2 separate regions of the Homo sapiens genome follow, and region 2 is linked to region 1. The links are contacts of gene promoters, found by promoter capture Hi-C in blood cells and fetal thymus (Javierre and others, 2016). All regions are on one chromosome and are shown on one strand. The core of a region is centred on a gene start or on the middle of the fragment in contact, and the rest is flanking DNA. Distances in the headings are between cores, read along the strand shown. Region 1 holds the start of C7orf25 (chromosome 7 open reading frame 25). Region 2 holds the start of COXFA4 (cytochrome c oxidase associated subunit FA4).

Region 1 (5,061 bases), core at 2,233-4,732:
GACATTTGGCATGGTAGAAAGAGATCAGACTGTGGCTAGAAACATCAAGTTTTAATACCAGCTCCTACACTTAGCATGAGTTAATATTTAAGCTCCAGGACTCAAATTCCAAATTTTTAAATGTGGTGAATACATACCGACTTTGCTAGTTTTGCTTTATTGAAAACTGATAAAGTATCTAGCGCAATGTAGCCATAGAAGTGTATTTTTAACTACAACTTGTGTCATGGAATTGGCATGGAATATTCTGTCACCATCTCATGAAAGTAAGGTAATGCAGTTGTCACTTGCCACTTGCAAATGAAACATGAAAATAGTATTTATTGTTCAAATACTTATAATATGGGGGCTTTCTGTATTGAATTTTTAAAATCTTTTACATAATCCTTTTTCAATTCATTCAAATTAGTATTTTACCTTAAGTGTCCTGGTTTTATCTTATAGTAGTAAGATTGTTGGCTTTCTTTTCACAAAGGTCTACCAATGGGTTCATGGCACTCAAATAACCATAATTCACTTTCTCATTTCTTCTGTATTATGTACTTTTTGTAAAAACACCTATCAGACTGCACCTGACATACAGCAAATAAGTTTTTCATTAATGGTTAACCTTAGAATCTAAAATTGATTACCAACGACTACCTCCCAGCCTAAACCATATAAAGCAATACAATGAAAAACAGGCTTGAATTTTCTCCAGATATTTAATGCAAGATGCAATGTAGCCATATTCCATGAAATGTGGTTAGCAGTAGGGGAGTTGTAGCCCTATCGAATCAAAGTATTACAATACAGCTGAAAGCTTTATATAGACGTATTTCGGTTCTTAATTGCACTAATGCAGACAGTTTGATAGATAAGCTTCTCTCTTGTGCTTTTTCTACTTTGGGAGGTTATATACTTTAGATGAGAGACAAAGAAACTCTACTGGTTTAAGAGTTCTCAGTTTTACTTTTACTATAGACCTTTTTTCCCACCAGTTTAGATGGGAAGACCCAGCCTTTGGTATAAATAACTTACTTCCACAAAAATATTTAAAGGGTATCTTTAGTGTTCACTGTCAGTTGTGTAGTCTTTTGGTAAGGGGGTGGCTAGAGCCTCTTTACTCTCAGTAAGTGCTCTGGGCTGATGGATAAACACACTAAATTTAACACCCTGGTTGTTTGCAGCTCTGACAAAACCACTATTAGCAGTCATTGTGATGGCTTTTAGGGTGTCTCCCGTCCCAAAAATTGTTAATGAGCGGCTATTAATTTTTGAACTGGCCACTAGTCTCAAGGCACGCTCAGAAGGCTGGTCTGGTACCACATTAATTCGCTTAATTAACACAGTGGCCCTCTCTCTCTCCCCAGGTCCTCCTAAGGTATCTAAAATAGACTGAAAGTCCTTGACAGCAGATTCACAAGCAAACAACTCCTTGTCCTTCATAAAGGCCTCCAGCTGAGGTAGAACCTGCTCTTTCCTCTCTTGCTCTGCTTGTTCTGTGAGCACTTTCTCTTTGAAAATAAAGTGGCAGCCTCCATAGCTGAGGGCAGATACATATGTGATTAAAGTAGTAATGTCCAGATTTACTCTTTTGCACACATCGACCTTAATTTCTGTTGGAAACGCAACACTTGCTAGTATATTTTCTCGGTCAACTCTGGTCACCTGCAAAAGTTCAGGGCCCTCATCATCTGATTCACTCTCACTTGGTTGAAGCTCTTCAGGGTGATCTAACAGAGCGTTGACTGCTACTATGTCTCCTCTCACAGATATGCCCATTTCTTTCAGCTTCTCTGCCATGGGGCTGGAGACACTGTTGTAAAATGCAAAGATGATGTGAGGGTTGCTATACTGCACTGGCTGCTGGTGACTGGCCTGGAGGAAGTCTTCAGCCTGCTCAATGATGCTTTTGTCACCATATTGGCCCCTGCCCAGCCAGATGTTATGAAGAGCTTCAGCCTTCCGGCCAATGGCTTTCACCCAAGTATGACCACCATTTGCAACTACATCTACCACAAGGGTTTGCTTTTCTCCTAAGGTATCTGTATAACCAAAGACATGAAGAACACTAACAACTTCTTCCAGGTTTTCTGCTGATTCCACAATGGCTCTCAGGTGTGTTAGGTTAGTGCTCTGTAAATGAGACTCTTTAATAGCTACTTTCCCAGCTTCTACTTTCTGCAAGAATTTTAATTCTGCCTTCAATTTGCTGCACAGCTTTGCACCACCTTCTATGCCACCTTTTCTTGATCTAGAAAGTGATTCTGCTCTCTTGATCAGTTCCTTGGCTATGGCGATTCGTTCACAGAGCATGGAATGTGCAGACATGCTGTCAGCATTATTCCTTTCCTAGGGAAAGAAACAAGGCAAACTTCAGTAGTCTCCTAAAATTATGACAATCAATTCTTCACTGGTGATTAAAAACTTCAATCTAGCAACACAGCTTATGGAGGGTGAGTCTATGAACCCGGGCTTGTGTATGTCTCATTCTGGAGTGACTGCTTCCTCTGATAGCTAAGGAAAGGATGGCAGCTACACTTTTGAACTCTTCTTTAGGTACGTCTGACACACTTTAGACCTTCATTTCTTCAGCTTGAAAGCCATGGGGACACAGCATGGTCCTAGGTTAGGATACAATGCAAGAGTTGGGCAATCTGCTATATAAATAATTCCCTTATGTCTATCAGCGGCCTGTTTAACTGCTGAGAAATTTTAATAAAGGCGACAAAAATGCCGAAAACAAAAATACACACAGACTGGCTAGTTAGCAAACTGTCCAAAGCAAGTGTCTGTCCTAAACTGAGCACTTCAGCCTCCCTAACCTTTTCCTCCTTCCCGAGTTGGTCTCCTTCAACCGGCTGCCTCATGATTTCCCCCGAGGCTTGGGGTACTTACGCCAAAAAAAATCAACACTGCCTCATTTCTGCATTTGACGTCAACCCAGACTATTTTAAAAGACCGAAGAAGACCACCAACTTGCGTCCCACTCCCACTCCGACTCTGAAGGAAAATCCGAAGATGAAACTAAACTCCAAGGCTGCAACCCGCGGCGGCCGTGCAAGCGGCCCCAGCGCAGGTCGCCGGGTGGGCGGGCCAGAGGCCGGCGGGGCCTTCTCGGTGGGCTGCGGGGCCCTCGGCCCTGCCCGGCCACCTGCACAGCCGGGCCCTGCCAGGAGGGGCCGGGGCCGAAAAGCCCCCACCGCCAGCGCCGCGGCTCAGGGACCAGGCGCTGATAGCGCGCGGCCGACCCCCTTCCCGCCGGGCCGGCCCTGCCCAGCCCCCTCTGGCCTCAGAAGAGGCGCCCCGCTCCCAGCCTCCCCGCCTCGCTCCCCGGCTCCTCACCGGCAGCGCCAGAACCGCGAGCGCGAGCACGCAGGCGCGTGCACGCAGAGGCCGGGACCCGCCGGGAAATCTCAACCGGGCAGCCCCCACCCCGCTCGAACGCCGAGGCGGCTCCACCCGCGCGAGCCCCGCCGCCTCGGGCACCTCCTGCATCACGTGGTTCCGGGCCGGGTGACGCCAAACCTGCGATTCCCAAGCGGCAGCGCGGCCTCCCGAGCCGGGTTGACGCTGGCGTGGCGGCCATGTTTATTGAGGGCACCTGGCTTCTCCCGCTTGCGCCGCCGGGTGAGCCTGAAGGCGCGCACCCACCTGGCTCCAGGAAGAGGGACCGAGCTCGCGTGCTGGGCCTCACTCCCACTGGGGGCGTCGGCCACTCGATCGCAACCGGGTCGTAGGCATTTTGGGGGCTCATTTTAACAGAAGAAACGCTGGAGAAGCTTGTCAGAGGTGACAGCTGAGAAGTACTGCCTCTGGGACTTCTGCCTCCAAGCCAAAGCACTTTCCACTGCATTGTCCTGGGCCCTCCAAAGAAAGTGTGCTGTCCTTCTGAAGAGAAGAAATGATTGCATGGCTTCCGAGGGGCTGCCATATTCATATTACTGTAGTAGAGTGTCCAGAGTCACCCAGAAAGATTAGGGCTGTAAGAAAGTAAAGCTAATTTAAAATATTAAAGAGGACTTCCAGTTATAATTAATCCTGTGTATCCTGCTCCTTCTCCAAACTTAACAGTAAAGCAATGCTCCTTCTCCAAATAACAGTAAAGCAATGACAAAGGGAACAAACAAAGGCAAAAAGAACAAGAGAAGAGATGACTGCAGACCGGTTATACCAACACATTTTTGGAGGACAAGAGCAATAACTTATTCAGTCCTTACAGCGTGACAGACATTGTTCTAAGTGTTTTACACATTGTTCACTCCTTTAAACAACCTAAAAGGTAGAGATATTAAGTATGCTTTACAGATAAGTGAGCCATAGGGAGGTTACCTGAACCCAAGCACCCTCTTTGCAGATGGTGTCAGGAGAACTGAGCAAACTGCTTGTAGAAGGGGATATTTAGCCACTGATTCACAAAGCAGAACCCCAGAAAGCTTCAGGTGCCTTGAAGGTAGAAGGGAGGGCAGTAAATTGTTCAGGCAGAAGACTAGTTTAAGATGCTAAAGACAGGGCATCAGAGGGATTCCAGACACAAAGCCTAACAAAGGATGAGAGGTGCCATGATGTTTTCCTACTGAATAGTGCAATGCTAGCAGCCCCCTTCTCTGCCCCTCCCATAATGCAGGCACCCCTCTACCGCTCCCTACCACTATCTCCCCATAACCCTATTTTTCTCTGAAGAAATGAGTAGACAAAAGACCCTAGAGAAATGGCTCGGCAATACCAACATTCAGCATCCCCTAGTGTGAGCCTCACGAACACAGCATTTCCCAACGTTTTTGTTATTTGAAGGAAATGGAAAACAGAACAAAATGGTCTCAAAAAGTATTCTATAACTAGCATCTTCAAATAAAAGATATTTCAGCTATGAAACAAGAGGATTTCTTTTTTTAAGGAGACAGCAGAGCACAGGAAATGGTTCTTCTGTAGTAAAAATCATATCCCAAATTTCAAAACATCAATGAGTTGGAAAAATTTAGAAAGTAGAAATAGATGAAAAATGGAGCAAAAACAAAAGGATCCAGTATCCAATTAACAGGAGTTTAGAAACAAAAACAAAATGAAGAGAAAATTTTT
Region 2 (5,088 bases), core at 1,111-3,610, about 32 Mb before region 1:
CAAGCTCTATGTATAATGAAGTTTGAGAACACTGTGTTAGACTACCTAAGAACTAAGAAAATGGTAAATGATAGCTATACTATTTTTCCTTCTTTTCTTATACTAGCAATTAAATACCTAGCAAAAAATATTTATTAGAGCAATATACCATTTTCATTTCACAGAACTACCTAACAGCTCTTTAAAGTTCAATATAATGGAATTTTACTCGTATATCCAGTTTCAAGAAAACCCACCCCATGACAAAACTTATTACAACACAATTTCTAACAACTTTAAAACAATTTTGTAGTTTACCTTGTATTGATCATTGGGACCCAGTTTGTTCCAGGGCTCTGGGTTATTTCTGTCCCAACTAAAAGAAATAAAACATTACGACTGTTATAATAATAAAGCACTATTTAGTGTTTTGTACTAAGAATACATTTTTGAACAGATCAATCTTATTTTCTATTAGATGAGGTATGGTGTTATTTCATTATGAAGTTGAAACAGGTAGAGGATCTATAATAAGCAATCTCATGTAATCAATTAGAAAAAAGGTAGAACACAGAATCCCTATCACAAGATACTTTTTATCTGGCTTTCACAAAACCTTTCCATTTAATTAATAAAGTGATATACAGAAAAGTGCATAGAATAATGATGAATCAATCTTTTGATTGTCTATTGTTTTTCAACTGCAAATGTGCAAGTGAAGGCAAAAAACATTTACATGTGCCGAGAACCATGATTATTTTATAAAAACAATTATTTTTATGTCAATCCTCAAAACATTACAAGATTTGGTATTAGCAGTTCTACTTTACCAAAGAGAAAACGAGACTCAGAGAAATTAGATAATTTCATGAACCAAAAAAAGTAAATGAAAACAGCAGATTTGAGATCTGAACTTATTGTATGACTGTAAATGTAACATTCTTTCTACTACCCTAATGTTATCGCCCTACAGAGACTGTGGCTCCTAAACTGCCTTGATCAGCTATCAAAGTTTTAAACATTTTTAAGTACTTACCAAACATCTGGATTGAACAATGCCAGACGCAAGAGATACAGTGTTGCTCCAGTAGCTCCAGTTCCAATAAATACAAAGAGGGGGATCAACTAAACCAAACACAAAATAGAATAACCATCTTCAAATACTTAAAACACTGGCCAACGAGAGATTACAGTAGTTTCTGCACATTGATTTCCAAGTCTCAAACTGTTATTGGACTGTTTTGTCTTAAAATTTAAATAAAGTAGATCTTACATTGAGGTAAGATTTCTTATAACTGTGTTCTAAAGAAAGAAATGGAATTTGGAAAGGATGTTAAGATGACTCTGGTTTAAGTGTCTTACTTTTTAATGTGGAGCAAATTATAGGTACATTTTTAAATTTCCAAGAAAATGTATCGAGTCTTCTTCACCTCTCTAATATTTACATGTCATTCCCATTAAATTTTCTGGCTTCCTTTATCCTGGGGCTTGAAAAACAAATTCTTTGCAAATTATTTAAGGGTGCCTCTATAAAGATGTATGAAAAATAGAATCTGAATAAGTAAACGTATCTATTACAAATACTGGCTTTAAGCATTATCTCTGAAAACGTAATGCTACCAATGCTTGCTGCGTATTTAGGGAACCGGATTTAAGACAGATTAAAGATTGCATAGACTTTTAGCTCTACAGCACATTGATGTGCTGAGGAAAAATGAGATGCCAAAGAACTTAACTGCAATTTCCACACTTCGAAATTTTCCCAAAAGCAACGACGTCCAGACAAAGTGAGGATTCCAAGATCACGGACCCCTCTTATTTACCAAAAGGCCTGGTGGTGCAATGCGGCGAATACAAGAACCTCCAGAGATGGTATAACACATAGGGAACCTGACCTATGCTAGTCTCTGACCCACACAGCGCACATCTATCCCTCCTGGACCGCACAACCTGCAAAAGAGAGCGGCCACCAGACTGTTCCAATATTCACTAACTAGAAAAAACTAGGTTTTTTTTCCGAGCAGTGTCCGTCTCCTTCCTCCTGTCAGACAAAACCCCACAATGCATGGCGTAGAGGGTCACAGAGGCCTGGGACAACTAAGATGACAAACACTAGGCGAGGCAGGGTCTGGTCTGACGGACGGTAAGTGGCTGTAAATGAGGACGTTCCCAGGGAACAGAAAGAGGCGCACCCCGACGCAAGAAGGACAAGGGAAAACATTAGGAGAGCGGTCACGAACTTACGCTCGGATGCTTCTTGGCCTGACCGATGATCTGGCGGAGCATGTTTGCGGCAGAGGTCTCCGACTGGAAAGGAGAGAACCGACCTAGCCACCAGGCCCTAAGCTAAAAATTATCTGCAATGAGACACTACGGACTTCCAAAGTCACCCAGGACCTCCTACCTGAAGGACCCTTGGCTGGGAGGGCAGCTTGCGGCAGGAGGGCCCGGATGCGACTGTCTTTAATAGTGCCTGCTTAGATCTAACCCCTCATATGTTCGTCCTGACCTGGTCGGACCATCATCATTCCACTTCATAGTGAAATGCCTTCATTGCCGTGCCATGCATATTTCTGAGGGGAATTTTTTTGGTCGAAACGAGGACTCTTCGATTGACCAGACAGGCACTTTCCAAGGGTGCCACGTACTGAGGAATGCGGTCGGAGCGTGGGCGCACGGGCCGCGCGCTCCGTGAGTAGGGGGCCTCTCCCGCGGCGCCTGAGAGCCGGGTCCGCGCGCAGAGGCCCTGGGGGCGCGCGTGCCGGGTGCGCGCTGGCCAGCTGTGACTGCCGCTGAGGGAGCTGCGCGGCGCCTCTGGGAGCCGAGCGCCGGGCGCCTGGAGGGCAGGTCGGGCCTCTTGCCGCTAAGGTCAGCGGCTGCGGTTTGAGAAGACTGCAGCTGCTTCCTGTGTTACGCTGTCGCAGACAAGCAGAAGTTAAAAACTAGTAAATGACTTAAAGGTGATAATAGTCCTGGCAGTGTATTTCTGAACCCTCAGATCCTGGCCCTCGGTTGAAAGTTCGTCGCCACAAAGACCTTTCCAACACGCCACTATCCCCCGTCCCTGGTCCCAAATTGCATCTTTAAAATGTGTTTTCAATGGTCGTGTAGCTACAGATAATCTTTCCCACTACCCCAGTCGAATTTTCATTTGTCTTTTGTTTTGTTTTCTTCGTTGTTTTTTTTACCCGAAGGACTTCCATAGGACAGGCTTTGCGGGGGAGGGTGGGGGGATTGGGATAAAATGTACACTCTGAACCCTCTCCAATCTCATACGTAGCTTAAAGCATTAATCAAATGATCAAGCAAGTATTAATAATTGGGACTAGAAATCATAGGAGAAGGCTCCACCGGAAGTTACACTAGCTCTGAAGGAGGAGCGGACATTAACCAGGTGAAAACGGAGGATGCAGGTGTACAGGGCGGAGGTAATAACACGTGAAGGTCTGAAGCTATTGAAAACCCGAGGGAGCTGTATGAGGTCTAGTGTGGCTGGAAAGTAAAAGGGAGAGCAAGGTGGGGATCAGATCTGCTGGGCCAATAACCGCTTAAACATCATGGGTTTTATGTTGAGAGCTTGGGAAGGTTGTGTTTTTAAATGATTGCTTTGTGAATAATTGATTAGAAGGGATAAGCGTGAGAGGGGAAAGACCTATCAAGGGGCCATTGCAATAGTCCATAATCTGTGTGACAGATAATGGTAGCTTGAACTAGTGTAGAGAATGTAATGATGAGAAAAAAAGATTCCAGAGATGTTTAGAAGGTGGCACCAACAGGACTTGGTGGTTGGCTCTCCAGGAGTGAGGAGAGAGAAGTTAAGAATAATTTCAGAGGTTCAGTTTTGAGCAGCTCTGTGGTTGTTGATGCCAGTTATTGAAATAAGCCGTAGAGAATGATGTATAAGTGCCTATGTAAAATTCAAGTGGATCTCTATGGGGCAGAAGAGAACTACACTATAAGTATAAATTTAGGACTCAGTTTACTGATAAGAAATGAACCCATGTGACTGAATGAGATTACTTAGGGAGAGAAAGTTGACTGAGAATTTAGACAGAGGACACAGAGCCGAGGAATTCCAACATGCAATGCTTAGAAGAGGAGGTATGGCCAGTAGGTAGGAAAAAAAAAATAGATGGTAACTGTTAAGGTGATATGTCATGAAGCTTATCAAGACTGGTGTCTTTTTTCATTCATTCAGCAAATCTTTCTTAAGTACCTACTCTCCACTAGGCACTGTTCTAGCCACTAGAGTTATAGCAGTGAACAAGAAAATTACTCTGCGTTGCTAATGGAGCTTACATACTAATTGAGGAAGACAAACAATAAACAAATGAGATAATTTTTAGACAGTGACAAGCCAATAAAATAGAATAATGAGACAGACAATGACATGGAAGAGGTGGAGGAGAGGAGGTTACTTTAAGTAGACAGGACAGGGAAGGTCCGTCTGAGGATTTCTGAGTTGAAACCTAAATGAAAGGAAGGAAGTAACCTGGTAAAGATGTGGGAAGAACACTAAATTAGTAAGAGAAATGGCTTTGAGATTTAAAAAAAGAAGAAGAAGAAGAAGAGTGCTTAAAAAAGTATCAGTGTGGTTGATCCATAACTAAGGAGAAAAAGAGGAAAATGAGAGCAAACAGTGGAGTCTGTAAAGTCTATGTCCAATTCTCTGACATGGACCTTATAGGCTATGGTAAGGAGCATGGCTGTGTTAAAAGATCAGCACAAAAACATGGAAAATACTTAGAAGTGAACAAAGAAACCTTAGTGAGTGTAGATAGGCTTTCAGCAAATAAATTAGAAGAAGGGAGACCTCTTCTTCCAATATTTTATTTTGAATAATAACAGTTGATAATAAGTAGGTATGTAGAAATGCCATTATTAAAAAGAAACTAAAATCCAGTGACTTAACTTTTTTTCTTTTTGAGACGGAGTCTCACTCTGTCGCCCAGGCTGGAATGCAGTGGCGCGAGACTTAACTTTTTTTTGTCATTGACCTAGCTTCTAGAGACAACAATAATATAGATAGCTAAGTGATGCCTTTATTTATTTATTTTTGTTTGTTTATTTTTTTGAGATGGAGTCTCGCTCTGTGGCCCAACCTGGAGT

Evidence for each region. The method cuts DNA at HindIII sites, captures the fragments that hold promoters and counts their contacts. A CHiCAGO score of 5 or more calls a contact.
Region 2: a contact is called between the fragment with the promoter of COXFA4 here and the fragment with the promoter of C7orf25 in region 1, in 1 of 17 cell types (monocytes). The highest score is 5.7, in monocytes.

The regions. Positions count from the first base shown.
Region 1 is chr7:42,908,588-42,913,648 of GRCh38, forward strand. C7orf25 (chromosome 7 open reading frame 25) reads right to left here and starts at 3,483. Exons shown (of 2, transcript NM_001099858.2): 1 at 3,328-3,483; 2 at 686-2,334. The coding sequence starts at 2,313. The coding sequence ends at 1,048. RefSeq lists enhancers at 2,312-3,009, 3,010-3,706 and a silencer at 3,055-3,314. The HindIII fragment of the contact is 2,903 bases long and covers 860-3,762 here.
Region 2 is chr7:10,937,793-10,942,880 of GRCh38, forward strand. It overlaps COXFA4 (cytochrome c oxidase associated subunit FA4), which reads right to left and starts at 2,361. Exons shown (of 4, transcript NM_002489.4): 1 at 2,224-2,361; 2 at 1,016-1,104; 3 at 298-355. The coding sequence starts at 2,265. It overlaps LOC107986767 (a long non-coding RNA gene), which reads left to right and starts at 2,464. Exons shown (of 3, transcript XR_001745091.3): 1 at 2,464-2,939. RefSeq lists enhancers at 2,344-2,613, 2,498-3,418 and a silencer at 2,644-2,893. The HindIII fragment of the contact is 7,174 bases long and covers 1-4,140 here.